Linked DNA regions of Homo sapiens: region 2 is linked to region 1. Evidence: promoter capture Hi-C in human tissues and cell types (Jung and others, 2019). All regions are on one chromosome and are shown on one strand. Each heading gives the region's core, a stretch centred on a gene start or on the middle of the fragment in contact. The rest is flanking DNA. Distances are from core to core; before and after follow the strand shown. Region 1 holds the start of LENG8 (leukocyte receptor cluster member 8). Region 2 holds the start of ISOC2 (isochorismatase domain containing 2).

Evidence for each region. The method cuts DNA at HindIII sites, captures the fragments that hold promoters and counts their contacts. A contact is called where the count stands out against the background at its distance.
Region 2: a contact is called between the fragment with the promoter of ISOC2 here and the fragment with the promoter of LENG8 in region 1, in 1 of the 25 tissues and cell types used here (mesenchymal stem cells).

The regions. Positions count from the first base shown.
Region 1 is chr19:54,447,103-54,450,841 of GRCh38, reverse strand. LENG8 (leukocyte receptor cluster member 8) reads right to left here and starts at 1,643. Exons shown (of 16, transcript NM_052925.4): 1 at 1,532-1,643. It overlaps LENG8-AS1 (LENG8 antisense RNA 1), which reads left to right and starts at 1,804. Exons shown (of 3, transcript NR_126418.1): 1 at 1,804-2,280; 2 at 2,627-2,677. RefSeq lists an enhancer at 986-1,893. The HindIII fragment of the contact is 4,932 bases long and covers 1-3,739 here.
Region 2 is chr19:55,460,227-55,463,965 of GRCh38, reverse strand. ISOC2 (isochorismatase domain containing 2) reads left to right here and starts at 2,324. Exons shown (of 6, transcript NM_001136201.2): 1 at 2,324-2,454. It overlaps C19orf85 (chromosome 19 open reading frame 85), which reads left to right. Exons shown (of 2, transcript NM_001386794.1): 2 at 1-965. The coding sequence ends at 494. RefSeq lists an enhancer at 217-939. The HindIII fragment of the contact is 25,257 bases long and covers 1-3,739 here.

The DNA of each region.
Region 1 (3,739 bases), core at 394-2,893:
TCGAGACCAGCCTAACCAACATGGAGTAACCACGTCTCTACTAAAAATACCAAATTAGCTGGGCATGGTGGCATATGCCTGTAATCCCAGCTACTAGGGAGGCCGAGGCAGGAGAATCGCTTGAACACGGGAGGCGGAGGGCGGTAAGCTGAGACTGCGCCATTGCTCTCCAGCCTGGGCAACAAGAGCGAAACTCTGTCTCAAAAAAAAAAAAAAAAAAAAAGCTAGGGAGTACGGGTTGTGAAAGGAACCTGAACCAAGAGGATGGATGCTATAATGAGAAGAGTCTGAGGGAACCCTTAAGGCTGAGAGGGTGGAAAGGTTTCCGAGAACTCTGTGAAAAGGGAGGCCTTTCAGGGAGCATCGAGGGGGCTGGAAGAATATTGGAGAAGAGAAGAAAATTTTGAGAGGAAAAGGGGATTTTCCGGAAGTTAACCCTGGAAGCAAGTGGTCGTTGAGCGTTCCTGAGAATGCCAACGTGAACCCCAACGTGAAGAAATGGGTTCTTAGCACTGACAGACTGATTTCAAAAAGGTCTCCGAAGGGCAGTAAAGAGACCTACGTGGGAGTCCTCAGTGGGACTACCCCTGCCTGCTTCCACGGGAGGTTCCCGGAAGCAGGGGTAGGGCTGGGAGAGAAAAGGGATCACCGTGGTTGGGTGTCTGGACATAAAGCTTTGGGAATGCCAAAGAAGACCCAAAACATGTTCAACGAATTAAGAGTGGGGTACAGAGAGAATTGGAAGAAAAGTGGAGTGTCTCCGGAGCAAGGATTCAGGAGCCTAAACTCCCGAGAGGGAGTAACTGATAAGTAGGATAATTAATCCCGCAGGAGAACCGGAATTCCCACGAGTTGACGGGATAGGAACGGGAGTCTGGAGCTGGGGAAAAGCCCTAGAAACGCAAAGGCTTAACTTAAACAGGACACAGGGCGTGGGTGGAGACGAGGGATCGTGGCGGGGACACAGGAAGAGGAGCCCCAGGGCAGAAGGGAGATTAGAGGTAAGGTCAGGAGTTGGGGGCTGGACAGAGGACTCCCGGACGGGTCTCAAGAACAGAGACAGGCATCAGACGCGAGGCCTGAGGTCCCGGGAGCACCTGGCCGTCCCGCAGGCTGGGCGAAGGCAAAGGAGGACGCCGGGTGGAGGAGGCCGCTCGGATCCCCACGACTAGCCACGGAGCCACTGCCCAGGCCGCGCCTGCGCACCACGCCCCAGAAAGACGCGCAGGAGCCGCCCGTCGCCCGGGGCAACACCCGGTCAACGGCGAGTGAGGGGCGCCCCGGGGCCCCGAGAACTCCAAGGGAGAGGAACGGAAATTAGAAGACGACGGCGCACGCGCGCTAGTGCCCGAACGCGCGGCCCCAGGCCCGGTGCGCAGGCGCAGTGGCTGCCCCTGCGCCGCCACACCCTGTCGACGCTCGCGCGCGGCGTCTGCTGCTGCGACGGCCGAGAAGGCCTCGGGGCTCGCGGGGCGCAAGACCAAAAGGAGATGCTATCCCCGCCCGCCTGCTCGCCTGCCGCTCCCCTTACCAACCAGGATCCTTCGCTGCAGGGACACGCCAACAACCACCCAGGCGATCAGCAACACGGCCACGACACCGCTGTGCCACCCGGCTGGCTCTGGTCTTCTTTGGCTTCGACGTCCTGACCGCGGCGTCCTGACGTCACGCGGCGGCCTTGCACCGCCTCCCTCGGCCCTGCACAGCCAATGAACGCCACGAGCTGCGCTTGAGCCCGCCTTCCTGCCCACGCACTTACGCATGAACATTTTAAGGCAGACCGGAAGTCTGGGTGGGGACGGTGGCCCCGAGGAGACAAGCGTGGCCGCATTAGCTCTTTCTGCCTCCCACGCAGCCTTATTTTTTTTATTGTTGTTTTCTTGTTGCTGTTGTTGTTGTTCTCGGAGACGGAGTCTTGCTCTTGCTCTGTCGTCGCCCACGATAGAGTACAGTGGCGTGATCTCTGCTCACTGCAACCTCCGCCTCCTGGGTTCAAACAATTCTGCCTCAGCCTCCGGAGTAGCTGGGATTACAGGCGCGCGCCACTATGCCCGGCTAATTTTTGTGTTTTTAGTAAAGACGGGGTTTCACCATGTCGGCCAGGCTGTTCTCGAACTCCTGACCTCGTGATCCCTCCGTCTCGGCTTCCCAAAGTGCTGGGATTACGGGCGTGAGCCACCGTGCCCGGCCGCAGCCTTGTTTTGACTGAGTCAGTGGGAGCCATTACTGTTCCTAAATGTAAACTGGCGTGACAGGAGTTCCGGGATTGTCCACAGCACGGTGATGTGGAAGCCCTGGGGAGAGAATGATAAAGAAAGGGGATGAGGAACAGCTCCACCCGGAAGAGCGGGCTTCCCTAGCAAATGAATCTGGAAGGGCGCAGGGGAGGGGGCACGGCGAGTTCAGATGGACCGAGGCTGGAAGCTGACGCGGTTGGAGGGGGATGGGTGTAGCTGTTGGCAGTGGCGCTGGGGTGGAAGTGTGTGGGGTCACAGATGTGTAAGGGTGGGCGCGGAGCAGACCCCCGAAGGTCCCTGAGGTCAGGCTGAGGCATTGGACCAAATCCGTACATAGGCATTTCTCTGAACTGCGCGCCACCTTTTGAGTGCCATCTGTTTCCGTCCAGGACTCTGATACAACTATCCAGTCCGCTGCAGGGACCGGTCACTGTGTCACAGTAAGTGGTGGGATTTAAGAGGCAGTTTTCCTCCTCATGTTCTACCATTATGAACGTCTAGCTTGAAAAATACATACCATTTTCATAACTACGTATTATTTTGTTAGTGCTAGCATAGTAGATCTTTTTCCGTTATTTTACTCTGTGGGGGGGGGGGGGTTTGTTTTGTTTTTGTTTTTGTTTTCTTTTTGGTACTAAGCTTTTTGTTCTGGAATAATTTTGGATTTATTCAAAACGTTGCAAAGACCGGGCGCGCTGGCTCACGCCTGTAATCCCAACACTTTGGGAGGCCGAGATGGGTGGATCACCTGGGGTCAGGAGTTCAAGATCAGCCTGGCCAACATGGTGAAGTCCCGTCTCTACTAAAAATACAGAAATTAGCTGGGCGTGGTGGCGCGTGCACCTGTAATCCCGGCTACTCGGGAGGCTGAGGCAGGAGAATCGCTTGAACCCAGGAGGCCAAGGTTGCAGTGAGCCGAGGTTACACCATTGCACTCCAGCCTGGGCAACAAGAGTGAAATTCTTGTCTCAAAAAAAAAAAAAAGAAAAGTTGCAAAGATCATAAGCAGTCCACCATGTTTTATGCCCACTTTCTTCTGATGCTGTCATCACAAGCACCAACAAAAGTGGTTTGTTGTAGATACTGACATGATGCATTACTGTAACTAAAACCCAGACTTTACTGGGATTTCACCACCTTTTCCTCCAATGTTTTCTTTACATGCCAGGGTACAAGCCAGGACCCACGTTCCATTTAGCTTCCTTTTACCTGTTGTATTTAGGGTGGGTTTCTTGTAGATAGCATGTAGTTGGATCTTGCTTTTTTTTGCCCAAGCGAACAGTCTCTGCCTTTTAAAAGAGGTGTTTATAACTGTACTTTTATTTTTTATGTCTTATTCTTTAGCATTCTGTACACAGATACAGCGATAAAATGAAATGACTGGAACTTAAATGTGAAAACTCTTTACAAGTAAGCCCACAATTAGATACATTTATCTTACATGTCAGGGAAAAAAATTATGTAAACAGGACAAATTATATCACAAAAGAATCCCAAAGTAG
Region 2 (3,739 bases), core at 1,075-3,574, 1.0 Mb before region 1:
AGTTCACCAAGATTGAGGCTGCCACCCAGCGCCTGGCCCTCTCCATCCTGTCCCAGGAGGCACCTCCCCAGAGACCCTCGCTCCAAAAGCCACCCCCACCGCCTCCATCCCCCTTCCTGGGAGTGGCCTGTGCTGTGGCCCCCACTGAGGCTCCCCATGCCAGCGCCAGCCTGAGTCTCGCTGCCCTGGACACCTCTACCCTCGACCTCTTTGACAACATTGCGCTCACCCCAGAGTGTGCCTCAATGCCATGGGACCCCTCCTCTGGTTCTGATGCTCCCCTGCCAGCGCCGGGTCTGTCCCATCGCGACCTGGGCCAGCTGGACCTGAGGCAGGTCCCACATTTCTGCGGCCCCCTGCCCCTTCCCCAGCATGCCCTGGGGGAAGAGGCTGATCTCGTGGCTCCCGACTGGGGTTGGGTGGACTGCTGGGAGGTGCCTCGTGCCTGGGATTCTCAGGGGATCCCCGAGGGTTGGGGGACCAGCTCCCCATGAGGCCAATCACAACCCAGCCCAGAACCCAGGACAAGCCAGAGGCCCCTCCACGACGGCTCTACAGCCCTCTCCAGGAGCCCCCAACCTGTCCACTCCCTTCCTGGCAGCCCCTGGGAAAATAAACCAACCCAGACCCCCACTTCAGACCACTGCCTCAGGGGTCTCCTCCTGGGCCCAGGGGCCCCACCTCCACCTCTTCTTGCTTTCCTGCCTTCCCCCTTCCTTCTGCCTAGCCCCATCTGGGCATCCACCCCTCACTCTCACCCAGGCTCACCTCTGCCTAATGTCTGCTCTCCTGTCATTTATTCCCAAAGATGTATCGAGCGCCTACTATGGGCCAGGCCCAGGTCTAGGACTTGAGGATTCAGCTGTGAACGAGGCAGACGGGACCCCTGCCTCAGGGAGCTCCCTGTTCTGTGTGCATGTGTGTGTTTTGGCGGGGAACAGACAATAAAAGAGTATATCCATGCATTTTTCAAAAAGCAAGATTCATTTCCAATTCAGATTGGAGTTAGTGCTGAAAAGAAAATAAAACACAAGGCCGGGTGCGGCGGCTCACACCTGTAATCGCAGCACTCTGGGAGGCCAAGGCAGGCGGATCACTTGAGCCCAGGAGTTCAAAACCAGCCTGGGCAACAGAGTGAGACCTCCATCTTTACAAAAAAATTAAAAAATTAGTCAGGTGTGGTGGCGCATACCTGTGGTCCCAGCTACTCAGGAGGCTGAGGTGGGAGGATCGCTTGAGCCCGGGAGGTTGAGGCTGCAGCAAGCTGTGATCGTACCATGGTACTCCAGCCTGGGTGATAGAGCAATTTTTTTCTTTTTTTTGATGTTTCAAAAAAATTAAAAACAGCGACCTGATGGAAGGGCTACCTGACACCAGGTGGTCAGGAAAGGCTTTGAAAGCCTGGAAGGTTGGGCCATGGGGAGTCCTAGGATTCCAGGCTGAGGCAGCACACGTGCAAAGGCCCTGCGGTGGGACATTGAGGGAAGAGCAAGAGGAGACCCCTGTGGCTGGAGCGGAGTGAGCAGGGGGAGTGGTGAGAGGCGAGGTCTGCACGGACCAGGAAGGCCGACCATGAATTGGGAGGAGTTTGGATTTATTCCAAGACAGATAGGAAATTCTCTCTTTCTCTCAACCTCCATTTCCAAGCACAGAGTCTAAATTATTCTAAACACCACCCGAGGAGGCAGGTGCTGTACAGATGGGGAAACTGAGGCAGCACAGAGCGCAAAGGACAGGGGGGCGTCAAATTCCTCACTTGATCGCTCCCTCAGCCAGCCCCTTCCTGGAAAGTGCTTGGGTATCTTTGTAAGCCTCCGTTTCTTGAGAGAGGGCCAGGTTTCGAACCGCAGACATGCCTCTACTCTAGGTAAGACCCCTCTCTCTCTCTCCCGGCCTCGGCGGTCTGCTCTGTGCAATGGGGCCGGCCGAGACGCCCTCTCTCCAGCCAGAGTCTGAGCCTTCGGAGACCACCGCGCGACTCCGCCCCGTCGGCCGCCACTCACGCCCTCTACGGCTCTCCATTGGCAGAACGACCTGCTGCCCCGCCCCCACGGCGCCTTTGCGAGCTAATCATTTTCTTGAGACTGACAGCCTTGCCGGCACCGCCCCCCCTGGGGCGGGAGCAAAGCAGCTGCATATGCGGATTGGTTGAGAGGCAGGGGGCGGGGTGAGTTGGTGAGCGCCGATTGCGGGCAGAGGCAGTGGCACATGCGGATTGGCCGGAGAGAGCGGCGAGGCAGAGCATGATGAGTGTCGATTGGACGGCTGGGCCCAAGTGGGCGGAAAACGGACGGTGCAGGGGGTGGGCCACGTGTCCAGCCCTAACGAAACGGTAACCAGCCCTGGGAAGCCCGCAAGAGGCCTCAGCGGTGGCCGTCCGAGAGCCGAGAGGTGAGGGTGCCCCCGCCTCACCTGCAGAGGGGCCGTTCCGGGCTCGAACCCGGCACCTTCCGGGTAAGTCCTCTCTCGCTGCTGGCGCTATTTGGAGACCGACCTTACCGCCTAGCAGATGGGGAAACTGAGGCTCTGCCTGGGCGTCCCGGGCCAAGGTCACAGGACCAGAAGGAGGACTCCACCTGGCCCCGCCAGAATTGGCTGGCCAGAGATTGGAAGCGTCCCCGGGTCGCGCCTGCCGCCTCTGTAACAGCGCTGGGGGGTGGGCAGGTTTAATCCCCATTTCTCCGACGAGAAAACTGAGGCTAAGACAAAGAGAAACTTGCCCAAGGTCACACAGCCAGGAAGTCCGGGCTCCAAGGCCGGGTTTCCGAGACCGGGTGGGGAAATCAACGGCCCTACCCCGCCCCCTGTTGCCGCCCACCTCCAGCCACGCCCCCTTTGGCCTTGGGTACCCTCCACCCAGGCTGAATCTCTCCTCGTTCCGCAGGACACGCCCAACCCTCTCCAGCCCAGACCTCCCCTTCACATCTCTCTCTCTCACACACCCACCCTCACCCCAATTTTTCATCTCCCAAAAACCAGTTCCCCTCCCCGGGATCCCCTATGAATCTTCAGATCATGCCCCTCGCTCGACCAGAAACTGGGGGCCTTTCTCCCCGACTTTCCCCACCGTCCCAGCTGCCCCTTCCTGACTCTCCCCTGTCCCACTGGGCCCCAGCGCCGACCTCCTGCTCTCTGGCCTTTTGCCTCCAGTTCAACCGCACGGCGGGGGCCTGAAGCCATCTTTGTATTTTGCATTTTGAACACTTTTTCTGGAATAATACCACAAACGCAGAAAATCGAACGGTTTGCAAATACACAGCTTAAATAAATATTTATAAAGGGAGCACCCTGGTGTAAACAAGTATCCAAAGAAAAAAGTCAAACATGCGCCACATCCCAGGATCTCCCGCCGTCGTCGTTTCCATCACTGTGGTCCAAGGGCAGTCACTGTCCTGGCTTCTGACGCCATAGATCAGTTTTGCCGGGTTTTGGCTTTATGCCAACCCTTTATTGTATATAGTATTGACTAGACAACTTGTTGCACATTGTCCAGAATTCAGAAGAAACAGAATAGGACCCAGTGAAAAGGCTCCTACAGACTTCCCCGGTGCCTGGTTCACCCGCCTGAGTCTCCCGTTTCTTGCTTGTTTGCCAGAGATAGCAGATATAGATATAGGCAACACAGACACATTTTCCTCTCCCTTTTTTCTTTGGCACAAAAAGGAGCATTCCATACACACTGTTCTGCTTCTTTTTCACTTCTCTCAAACATGTTTTCGTATTGTTACTTAAAGAGCTT